Linked DNA regions of Homo sapiens: region 1 is linked to region 2. Evidence: promoter capture Hi-C in human tissues and cell types (Jung and others, 2019). All regions are on one chromosome and are shown on one strand. Each heading gives the region's core, a stretch centred on a gene start or on the middle of the fragment in contact. The rest is flanking DNA. Distances are from core to core; before and after follow the strand shown.

The links. The method cuts DNA at HindIII sites, captures the fragments that hold promoters and counts their contacts. A contact is called where the count stands out against the background at its distance.
Region 1: a contact is called between the fragment with the promoter of ATRN here and the fragment with the promoter of GFRA4 in region 2, in 1 of the 25 tissues and cell types used here (liver).

What each region holds. Positions count from the first base shown.
Region 1 is chr20:3,467,420-3,473,054 of GRCh38, forward strand. It overlaps ATRN (attractin), which reads left to right and starts at 3,599. Exons shown (of 29, transcript NM_139321.3): 1 at 3,599-4,098. The coding sequence starts at 3,689. RefSeq lists an enhancer at 3,186-3,325 and a silencer at 3,426-3,985. The HindIII fragment of the contact is 27,188 bases long and covers 1-5,635 here.
Region 2 is chr20:3,659,534-3,664,834 of GRCh38, forward strand. GFRA4 (GDNF family receptor alpha 4) reads right to left here and starts at 3,866. Exons shown (of 6, transcript NM_022139.4): 1 at 3,821-3,866; 2 at 1,411-1,756; 3 at 1,222-1,331; 4 at 993-1,127; 5 at 625-716; 6 at 1-456. The coding sequence starts at 3,866. The coding sequence ends at 376. RefSeq lists silencers at 1,242-1,291, 1,382-1,491. The HindIII fragment of the contact is 25,120 bases long and covers 1-5,301 here.

The DNA of each region.
Region 1 (5,635 bases), core at 2,349-4,848, 190 kb before region 2:
CCTCCTTCATGAGAAGCAACTGGACAATGATACTAGTGTATTACATATAGATGACTAGTTGTAGATTATACATTTATATACAATTATACTGTCGTTCTTAATTCTTAATCAAGTCCACATCACAAGACTTATTCTTGTCCTTGGAGGAACCAGGGTACAGAGTATTCTGGTAATTTATTATTGTGTAACGAACTGTCCCCAGTTGGCTCATTTATTTGCTTATGTATCTGCAGTTTGGGGCGGGTTCAGCAGGAACAACACCCCCCTGCTTCATGATTGGGGCCCCAACTGGGAAGACTTGAATGGCTGGGGGCTGGCTTCCTCACAGCATGGTGGTCTCAGGGTAGCTGGACATCTTTTATGGCAAGTGTTCCAAGACACTTCAGGAGGAAGCTGCAAGACTTCTTATGACCTAGCATAAAGTCCCATTTCTGGGACCTCAGAAATCCCAGTACATCACTTCCACCATAGTCTATCAGTCAAGCAAATCACTAAGGCCAGGCTAGATTCAGAGTGGGGTGGGGGTGGGGGTGGGGGTGGGGCCGGGGCCAAGGGTTAGACCTGATCTCTCCATAGAAGGAATGTAAGAGAATTTGCAGCCATCTTTAATCTATCACACAGACATAGAATGTGTAGGGGACTTTTTGATAAACGCAGTAAAGGAAAAAGAAGATAGCAGGTAAGATTTTGTTTCTTTGTTTATTTGTTTTTAGAGACAGGGTCTTGATCTGTTGCCCAGGCTGGAGTGCAGTGGTCCAAACATAGCTTACTGCAGCCTCAAACTCCTGGGCTCTGTGATCCCCCTGCCCCAGCCTCCCAAGTAGCTGGGACTACACATGCACGCCACCACATCTGACTAATTTTTTAAAAAATTTTTTGTAGAGACAAGGTCTCACTATGTTGTCCAGGCTGGTCTCAAACTCCTGGCCTCAGGTGATCCTCCCACCTTGGCCTCCCAAAGCACTGGGATTACAGGCATGAGCCACTGCACCCAGCGTGTTTGTTTTTTAAGGACAAAATAATTTGAGCATGTTTGAAAGCTAAGGAAAAAGAACCAGAGAAGAGAGTAGATTAAGGAAGTAAGAAAGAATGTTTGCTGCAGCAAGATTCTAAGGCTTCAGAGTAGCAATATCTAGTCTAGGGATTGCTGTTCTTCAGATGCACACCTTTTCTGTTATCCCTGAATGTTGGTAAAATCATGTGAAACTTCACAGTGTGGGTTCAGTCTTGCTGTGGGGAGGGAAGGGAAGGAAAGGGCTGGTTCACTTCTGGCCTGGAAGATTAGGGGGAGCAATGTCTCCTACAGCTAGGGCATGGCCTATGCCAGCCTCCCCATCTGATGGGGTCCTGCCAGAGGGTAGGGCCATGTCTTCAATTTCAAAATCCTACATGGCAAAAACATAACCTGCAAACCAGAATGTCAGTGCTAGGGCCTAGGCCGAACAATAGTTTTCCTGTAGGAATGGGGAGTATGTGTGGATGTAGAGCTGGGGGTAAGGCTTTTGTGCAATTCAGCTTCACCAGGCTTGAAGAAGATGCAGTGAGGACAGTCAGGACCTGAGTATGAGAGTGGGACCTGGGTATGAGTGTGGAAATCCATCTTAGAACCTTAAAATTCCATACTCTGAGGTAAAGCTGAGAGGCTCCACAGGTCTATGAGGGTTTTTCTTTGTTTCCCAGGGACTGTAAGGTGCCCAGATTCTGAGGTAGGTGCCATAGGAATATTCCTCATAGCACAAGCATTATGTCGGACAATGTTCTGCTTATCTATTACTGAGTAACAAACCTCTCTAAAACTTAGAGGCTTAAAATAACATAAATCATAATTTATGAAAAATTATAAATAATTCATCACTTAAGGGTTAAATGATAAATGAGTTATTTCTTAGGATTTTGGATAAGTCACAGTTAGGAAAGACCTGTTACTGTTGTAGGTAACATGGAACAGCCCAGACGGTTGGAATAACCCAACCCAGATAGCTTCTTCACTCAATGACTGATCCCTTAGCTAGGATGGCTCCACCAGCTGAGCGGCCCAGCTCTCCCTCTCCAAGTCCAAGTGGTCTCTGCACATGGTTTCTCTCCAGCAAGGTGGCTAACGGGGTGCAGCTCATGACCACCAACAGCTCAAAATCAAGGCTGCCAGGTCTTTTTTTTTTTTTGAGACAGAGTCTCGCTCTGTCCCCCAGGCTGGAGTGCAGTGGCGCGATCACGACTCTCTGCAACCTCTGCCTCCTGGATTCAAGCGACTCTCCTGAGTAGCTGGGATTACAGGTGTGTGCCACCACGCCCGGCTAATTTTTGTATTTTTTGTAGAGACAGGGTTTCACCACGTCGATCAGGGTGGTCTCGAACTTCTGACCTCGTGATCTGCCCGCCTCGGCCTCCCAAGGTGCTGGGATTACAGACGTGAGCCACCGTGCCCGGCCAAGGCTGCCAGGTCTTTTTTAAGCTCAGAGCTAGAAACAAGACATTGCTACTCCTACCAACTTCTTCTATTGGTGAAATTGAGTCATGGTTTCTCATGGTCTCAATCATGACCCAGCCCAGATTCCAGGGTCAAGGACCATAAAAGGCTACATTGATGGAAGACATGTCTCATTGAGGGACACCAGAGTAACAACTACCAGACAAGAAGGGGCAGGTCTGTGTGAGCGCCATTTCCTAATTCTATATTGCCCACTCTTCAGAGAAGATGGTTGGAGGGCAAATTGTGGGGAGCAAGGTAACTCCAAACTTTTACAGAATTAAAGGTAGGGGGTCTGGTCAGCTACAGTCCATCTGTTATCAAGAGGCCTGGCTGTGTGTCTTCATTCAGTTTATTAGGCATTTACTGAGCACAGCCTACATGCCAGGTTCTTCATTTTTTGACACAGGGTCTTGTGTTGCCCAGGCTGGAGTGCAGTGCTGCGACTGCGGCTCACTGCAGCCTTGACCTCTCCAGACTCAAGCGATCCTCCTGCCTCAGCCTCTGGAGTAGCTGGGGATACAGGCGCGCACCACCATGCTCGGCTAATTTTTGTATTTTTAGTAGAGACAGTGTCTCACCCTGTTGGCCAGGCTGGTCTCGGATCCCAGAGATCAAGTGATCCGCCTGCCTCAGTTTCCCAAAGTGCTGGGATTACAGGCGTAAGCCTCCGCGCCCGGCCTATGCCAGGTTCTACATGTGTTCTTTCTTGACTCTTGTGTTACAGAGGCTCGAATGAAGCCTGGCTTCTACAGTACCGCACCCAGCACCTCGCTGCGATGCAGCCTCCTGTACCCTTTCCGTCCGGCAGCTGGAGTTAGGGCAGAGTGCCGGGTCTCTAGGAGGGCAACACTCAACGCAGTCGGCTCCTAGGCATCCAGTGGGGCTGCAACCCCGCCGCCGGGGACGAAAGGCGAAGGGGGAAAACTAGAGCTTTCGCCGGCCGGGACAGCGCAGCCGGGTTTCAGCTCGTTCTACGGTCCACGTCAGAAGATCGCCTCCGGCGCCGCGGACGCCGGAGACCACTGTCTGCGCCCCCGCACGCACGCACCCACGTACTCGCGCACGCGCGCGCCGGCCCCGCCCACCGCCCCGCTGTGGCCCCTTTGGACCGCACGAGCCACCGTCCGCACAGCCCCGCCCCGCACGGCCAGGCGAAGCGGAGCCGGCCGTGCGGTGTGTGTGTATGTGTTCGCGGGGCGCCGTCTCAGCCCCGGGAAGATGGTGGCTGCAGCGGCGGCAACTGAGGCAAGGCTGAGGAGGAGGACGGCGGCGACGGCAGCGCTCGCGGGCAGGAGCGGCGGGCCGCACTGGGACTGGGACGTGACCAGGGCTGGGAGGCCGGGGCTGGGGGCCGGGCTGCGCCTCCCGCGGCTGCTGTCTCCACCGCTGCGGCCACGGCTGCTGCTGCTGCTGTTGTTGCTCTCGCCGCCGCTGCTGCTGCTGCTGCTGCCCTGTGAGGCCGAGGCCGCGGCGGCGGCGGCGGCGGTGTCGGGCTCAGCCGCAGCCGAGGCCAAGGAATGTGACCGGCCCTGTGTCAACGGCGGTCGCTGCAACCCTGGCACCGGCCAGTGCGTCTGCCCCGCCGGCTGGGTGGGCGAGCAATGCCAGCACTGCGGGGGCCGCTTCAGGTGAGTGGCGGGTGGTGTCGGAGGGTCGGGTCCAACCAGAGGCTGGGGCTGAGGGGCGTTCGAGACGGCTCCAGGTCAGAGGGAGATGCTGGACAGAAAGTGGAGAGGGTAGGGCCGCCCTATGGGGTTTGAGGGCCATTTGCTTCCGGGGAGATCATCGTCTCTGGCCTGGGGTCTTTCTCTGTTGGAAGGTGAAAAGGTGTGGGGCAAGGGTGGGGGCACCCCGACGGTATTTGGGTGCTTAGGTTAGTTAGATGGGAAGAATGCTGAGGGACCCAAAGAGCATCAAAGCCGATCGCTCTAAAACTCGGCGTGTTTCAGCTAAACGAGGTATCCAAGGAAAGGTGGTCGAGCCAGGTTTGCTTGAACACTTCCTTTTAACATCCACATGTGCCCTAGGACCCGATGAGTTCCCCGATGCACTGGAGATGTGGGGTGCTCTGAAGAAACAGGGCCCTGGAAATGCTTTGTTGGCTGGAGATAAAAGGGAAAGGGTAGCATTGTAAGATATTAGGGATAGAAGGACCAGTGGTCCTTCTAAAGGAAAGTGAGGAAACTAGCCTTTTGGCAAAAGCTCCCTGGAGGTGGCAAATTGGAATAGGGTCTGTGGTGAAGAGGGAATGGAAGGAGATTCCTATTTGCCTTGGTTTCTGGACAATATGAAGTTCTGAATTGGCTTAGTTTGGGGCAGTTCCTCTTGGAGAAATCAATAAATTAATTAGCAGTTATCGTTATTTGCTTCAGTTGTGCAATGATTTTCCAGATAATACAGACAGATTAGCCAGACTTTGGCCTTGTCCACAGGGAGTTTGGAATATAGCAAGAGAAAGATAATGTGCGCACATAACCCTAGTCATAAGGGTTACAGAGTCATTCACGCCTTTGACAGGTATTTAGCTTACTGAACACATGTCTGATGTGGGGGAGTGGGGAAATGTGAACAAGACAGACAGGGCCTCTGCTCTCATTGACCTTAACATTCTAGTGGGAGCAACAGGCACTTAACAAGTAAATAAATGAGAGAAATAAACATGGTAATTTCAGGTAATGGTAAATGCTATCAAGAAAATAAAAACAGCGTGGTCTGATAGAGAATTATAACCGGTGGTGACTCTTGGAGAGGGTTCTCATTTGAAATGACATTTGATCTGAGACCTGAATGAGGCAACAGGGAACTTGTGGGAATTCAGGGATGGAGAGGTTGTGGCTAGCTGGAGGGATGCAAGGAGGACTTTGAGGAGGCGGTAACATTGGATTTGAGCATGTAAGGTTAAGTAGGATTTGGAAATGTGGAGCTGGAAAAAAATTACAGATGGAAAGAAGGGTGCAAACAAAGTTGTGGAGGCTGGAAAGTAAAGTTTTGCTGCTGCCTATGTGGAAGAGAGTTGTGAGAGAGGAGTTTGGAATAGCAAAATTGTAGACTTAGGTAATATTAGGTCTTCTGAGGAACTCAGAGAACGTTGAGCAGATGAGCTCTTTAGTTTTATGGATGGAGAAACCAAGTTACTTCAGGACCACTGATGCAGTGAAGCTGCTT
Region 2 (5,301 bases), core at 2,616-5,115:
TGGGATTCTGGATGGTCTCTGACCTGCTCTAGGGGATCTGGGTCTCCAGAGAGGTCTCAGCTACAAAAGTGACCCTCTCCTGACCCCACCTTGTGGGAGACCCCAGTGGTCTCAAGGTCTGTGAATAAAGGGACTTACAACCAAGATGCCTCCTGACAGGGAGACGGGGGCTTTACAGTCAGGCCCCAGCCTACATCCCTTGCCCCAGGGGACGGCACACAGGGTGTCCAAACCTACAAAGGGCAGCGGAGTGAAAGCACCAGGGCCGGCTTGGGGGGTAAGCCAGCCCCTTCTCAAGGGGCCAGTAGGCCACAGAGGCGGCCCAGGCAGGCAGGGTGGAGTAGCTGGCTGTGCTATCCGAGGTCGCTGTCCTAATCAGAGCAGGGCCGGGAGAGCCAGGACAGGAAGTATGGAGAGCAGGGAGCGTCTCTCCAGGGCCCTGCCTGTGGAGGACACCTTGGGGGTGGGAGCCAAGTGCAGACTTGAGGCAAAAGCCTGTCTCTGCCCTCTGCCTGCACCCCCACCCCAGGCCCTTCATGCCTCCACCCAGGCCCACCAGGGACGGAAGGGTGTGAAGGTGACAGTGGGGGAGGTGCCAGCTCACCCTCCCCTCCCTGCACCTACCTGCAGGAGGCTGTGCTCCGGGTCTCCCTGGGGGTTCAGCTGGTCCAGCAGGACTGGGGGCCACCCGCTGGCAAAGGCCTGAATGGCACCATCTATGGAGGGAGGGGTCCAGGGTGGACTTAGCTGGGAAACCCTAGCACAGGGCTCAGCACAGGGGACAAAGTGAGAGACCCCCTGCTGCAAAGACTGGCTCCTTGGACAGAAGGTGTGTGGTGAGGAATAACAAAATAATAAGCACAGCTGTGACAGAGTGACTCAACTGTACAGTCTTCCATTCTCCCCTCTAAAATGGCTCCCAGCCAGGCGGCTTGGGAGGGGGCAGTAAGCGCCGCCCCCACTCCCCCTCCACTCCCCCCCGGGCCCCTCACCCAAGCAGCGGTTCCTGGTAAAGAGCCCCCGGAAGGCTTCGCAGTCCTCACGCCGGTTCCCGCTGGCTCCGCAGTCGCACCAGGGCGCCACGCGCGCGCTCACGTTGTCCACGTAGTTAGGGGTGACGGCGGTGCCTGCGGGGACCCTGAGGGCGAAGTCATCGGCCCACCCGGGCGGAGATATCCCCTGGAGAACCCCCGCCCTCGCCCGGATCCCGGCCGCGCGTACCCACGAGGCCCGCGTAGGCGCGCAGGCAGCGGGCGCCCTGGTCCAGCAGGCAGCCGTCGGGGGCGCTGGGCGCTGGGGTGCACGAGACCTGAAAGGCCAGGAGGCGAGGCCTGCGCGGCGGGAGGGCGGTGAGCCGGAGAGAGGCCCCGTCCCCACCCTCGCCACGGCCCCGCCGCCGCCCGCGCGCACCTGCAGACCCGGCTGCGCTCGCAGAAGTTTAAGGGCTCAAGGCAGGAGGGCGGCGCGGGGCCGGGCCCCGAAAAGGCGCAGGAGGGCACGAAGGTCTGGCGCCGACGCTCGGCGCACGCGGGGCCCGCGCACGGGCAGAAGAGCAGTGCGTGGGTGAGCGCGGGCGGCCCGCGGGCGAAGAAGCGGCGCAGGGCCCGGCGGCAGCGGGCGCGGGGACAGCCCCCCTGCGCAGCCCGGCCCAGGCACTGCGCCACATACTCGGAGCGCAAACGCTGGCACCGCGCGTCCGCCGTGCAGGCTTCGGCCGCGTCCACACATCGGTTCCCTCCGACCGAGCTCGCCGACCCTGGGAAAGGCGCGGGGAGGCTGCAGGTCTCAGTGCGCCCCGCATGCACACTTCACCCAGCCCATCCACGCCCCTGGAAGGTGGGGGACACTGAAAACCCGAGAAAGCATAGAGTGTGGCCCAAAGGCGGGGCCGACTGGCACTGATCGGCTCTCCGTCGTGGGGATGGGCAGCGGCGGGCTCTGGAGGGCTCTGCAACACGTCAGGGATGGAGAGGGAGCATGGAGGCTGAGCCAGGCCTTCCCCAAAAGCTGAAGCCCCTCCTTCCCAAGCATCGCCACCATTTCTCCAGAACGGCCACACACGTCCAAAGACGGGTCCAGGGGCTCCTCCTACACTCAATGGCACTACCTGACGGGGGAACAATGAGGCTTTCTGGGGATCTGGCCAATGGAGACTTTAAAACCAGAGATGGCATAGAAGACAGTGGCTGCTCCTAGTCTCTTAATGACAGGCTGTGACGCCATACCTTTCCTCCTCTACCCCCTCCACCTCGCCGCTTATCCTCCACCATGGAGACCCTTTGGGTGGGTCTATTGATTTCTGTTTCTCCCTCCTTCCTGACCTCCTGCTCCTCCTCCTGCCCCCTGCATGGGTGTCTCCCCTCTCCAGCCCTTCCTGATGCTCCCTTGAGTCGAGGTCATCCTGCCCCATCTGCACTGGCTTCCTCCAGCCCCTCCACCCTTCATCAGCCAGGGGAGAGCGGATTCATGCAAGAGCTCTGGCCACTGAAGAACCCACTGAGTCCTGGCTGCCAGGGTGTGGATTCAGAGAAGTCCCTGACGACACACCGCCGGGCTTTGTCCTGAGCCACAGGACCCAAGGGTTCATCAGTGGTTTTAGTGACCAGGCCCCATGATAGGTGACACCCTGCTGGAGACAGAGAAGGTGCCTGGCACCCCAGTCACACACCAGGGGTTGGGTAGACAGAGGGTGAGCTCTGCCCACATGCCCACAGGCTGTGTCTAAATAGAGCCAGGATAACTGGAAGTTGGGACTTGGCAGCCCCTTCCCAGGATTTGAGTCACAAAAACCAGGCTAATCGAATCCCCCCCAGCCTCCACAAGTTCTCCAGTCTGGAGCATCTCATTCAGACTAGAAGCCTTTCTGGTGCCCAGCCTGAGTGGACGTGCACAGCCTGGCCCCTCATCCATCTCCCTGTGTGTTTGTGCACAGGGGCTACGGGGTGGTATCCCCCCCCCAGGGCTGGGAGCAGGGTGCCTCTCTGGCAATGGCTGTGTCTTTCAGGCTGTGGATTGGACCGCGTGGTGAGAGTGATTCCTGCTGTGACTTCAGCACCTGCCTCTGCAGGAAGGATGAACATAGCTCGAGGGCTTAGAATGGTCCCTGAGTGGAGGGGATAGATGGCAGCGGGGTGAGTCCTCCCTTCCTCCCCTCCCCAAAGGGCACACTTTGCTTTCCTCTCACAGCCTTGCCAGGCACATCCTCAGGTCTCAGCTGCACACACCAGCACCTGATGTTGCCTAAGGGTTTGAACCCACCTCTGCCTGTTGCTTACCTGTCACCCTTGCCCAGAACACCCTTACCCAGTCTCCACCCTCACAGCAGCTCATCTCAGCTGCAAGATCTCCTCCACCTTAAACCTTTACCAGATTCCACTTTCCACACTACACTCGGTAAAGTGACCCCTCCCTCCGCGACATCCATGCAGGGACGGAGCAGTCCAAGAAGGTGGAACAACAGATGAACAACACCGAAGATTCACCAAGGAATCTGTGTGATGGGTAGGAGGGCTGGGGCTGAGGGGAGGGTGAGAGAGTTGGGAGATGGCAGACAATAGGCAAAAGTTCCTGGGGCACGGGTGCCAAGGCTGGACTCGGGAGGGGGATGGCGGTGGTGGCTTGACGGGGCTGGGAGGTGAGGTGCTCAGCACATAGTGGGGTCAATTGCCAGGGGTCCCCAAGCCGTGCGCACAGGCCTCTCACTGGCAACCCTTCCTGTGGTTCAGCTTTTCCTGGAATATCTTGCCCTCCCACCTTGTCACTGAGGAGCAGGGACAGAGAGGCCAGGGTTCGGGGTCCAGGGGAAGAGAGGGGCGCTCACCCAGTAACAGCAGCAGCAGCAGCGCAGGCCCCAGGCAGCGGACCATGCTGGACCTTCAACAGAGAAGGATGGCTGGCAGAGCCCTAGTCTGATAGGCGCCCCCTTCCTAGTGCCTCTGGAGCAGGAGCACAGTGAAAACCCAGCTGTCTGCGCTGATACCCCTGGGAGGAGCCTTTGCTGCAGCAACTCCCCGCCCTCATTAAGTCTCCACCCCAGGCTGCACCGTCAGGTAAACCTGGGAGCCACGGGATTCGGCGCCTGAATGTGCCTAGACGGACCCCAACACACTAGCCCTGCCACGCACACCCAGCAACACACAGACAACCACCCAGGGAGACCTGGTCTCTCCCATGCTAAACTAGGAACGCTATGAAACAGCATTTTTCTTTTCCTTTTTTATATAATTCTATTTTAAACTTAAAAAAATTTTTTTGAATAGAGTTGGGGTCTCGCTCTATTGCGCAGGCTGGTCTTGAACTCCTGGGCTCAAACCATCCTCCCACCTCGGCCTCTCAAAGTGCTAGGATGACAGGTGTGAGCCACCATGCCTGGCCTATTTTAAACTTCTTATTGTTGACTAATTTTAGACTTGCAGAAAAGTTGGAAAATGTAAGCATTTTCCTTACACCCTTCACCCAGCTTCCCCTGATGGTCCATCTTACTTAATCATAGTCCAATCATTACAGCTAGGAAACTAACCTTGGTACAATCCTGTTAACGAAACTGTAGACTGTTTTGCATTTCTCATTTTTCCACTAATGTCCTTTTTCTGTTCCAAGATCCATTCTAGGATCCCACATCACAGTTGTCTCCTTATTCTCCTCAATCTGGGAGTTCCTTCATCTTTCCTTATCTTTACCCTTGACACTTTTGAAGAATCCTGGCCAGTTATTTTGCAGAATGTTTCTCTTGAGTTGTCTGATGTTTTATTCTGATCAGAATGAGACACAGCATTGTTTTGACTAACCAAAAAGTTATTCTATAAGTAAATATTGAGGTTAAAAATCTCATCCAACCTGGGCAACAGAGTAAGGCCCTGTCTCAAATAAAGTCTCAACACTAAGATTTAAAAAGTGACCAGAAAAGCCCCCACTATGATTTGTCTTGACTTTTTTTTAAAAAACAAACAAACAAACAAACAAACAAACAAAAACGATGTCTTGCTCTCTCTCTCCCTCAGGCTGGAGTGCAGTGGCACGATCTTGGCTCACTGCAACCTCCGCCTCCCAGGTTCAAGCGATTCTTCTGCCTCAGCCTCCCAGGTAGCTGGGATTACAGACGCCCGCCACCATGCCCGGCTAATTTTTGTATTTTTAGTAGAGACAAGGTTTCACCATGTTGGCCAGGCTGGTCTCGAACTTCTAACCTCAAGTGACCCGCCCACCTCTGCCTCCCAAAGTGCTGGAATTACAGACGTGAGCAACTGCGCTTGGCCTCATTAGCATCTTAAATCTCCACACAGGGGTGTGTTCCTTACTATT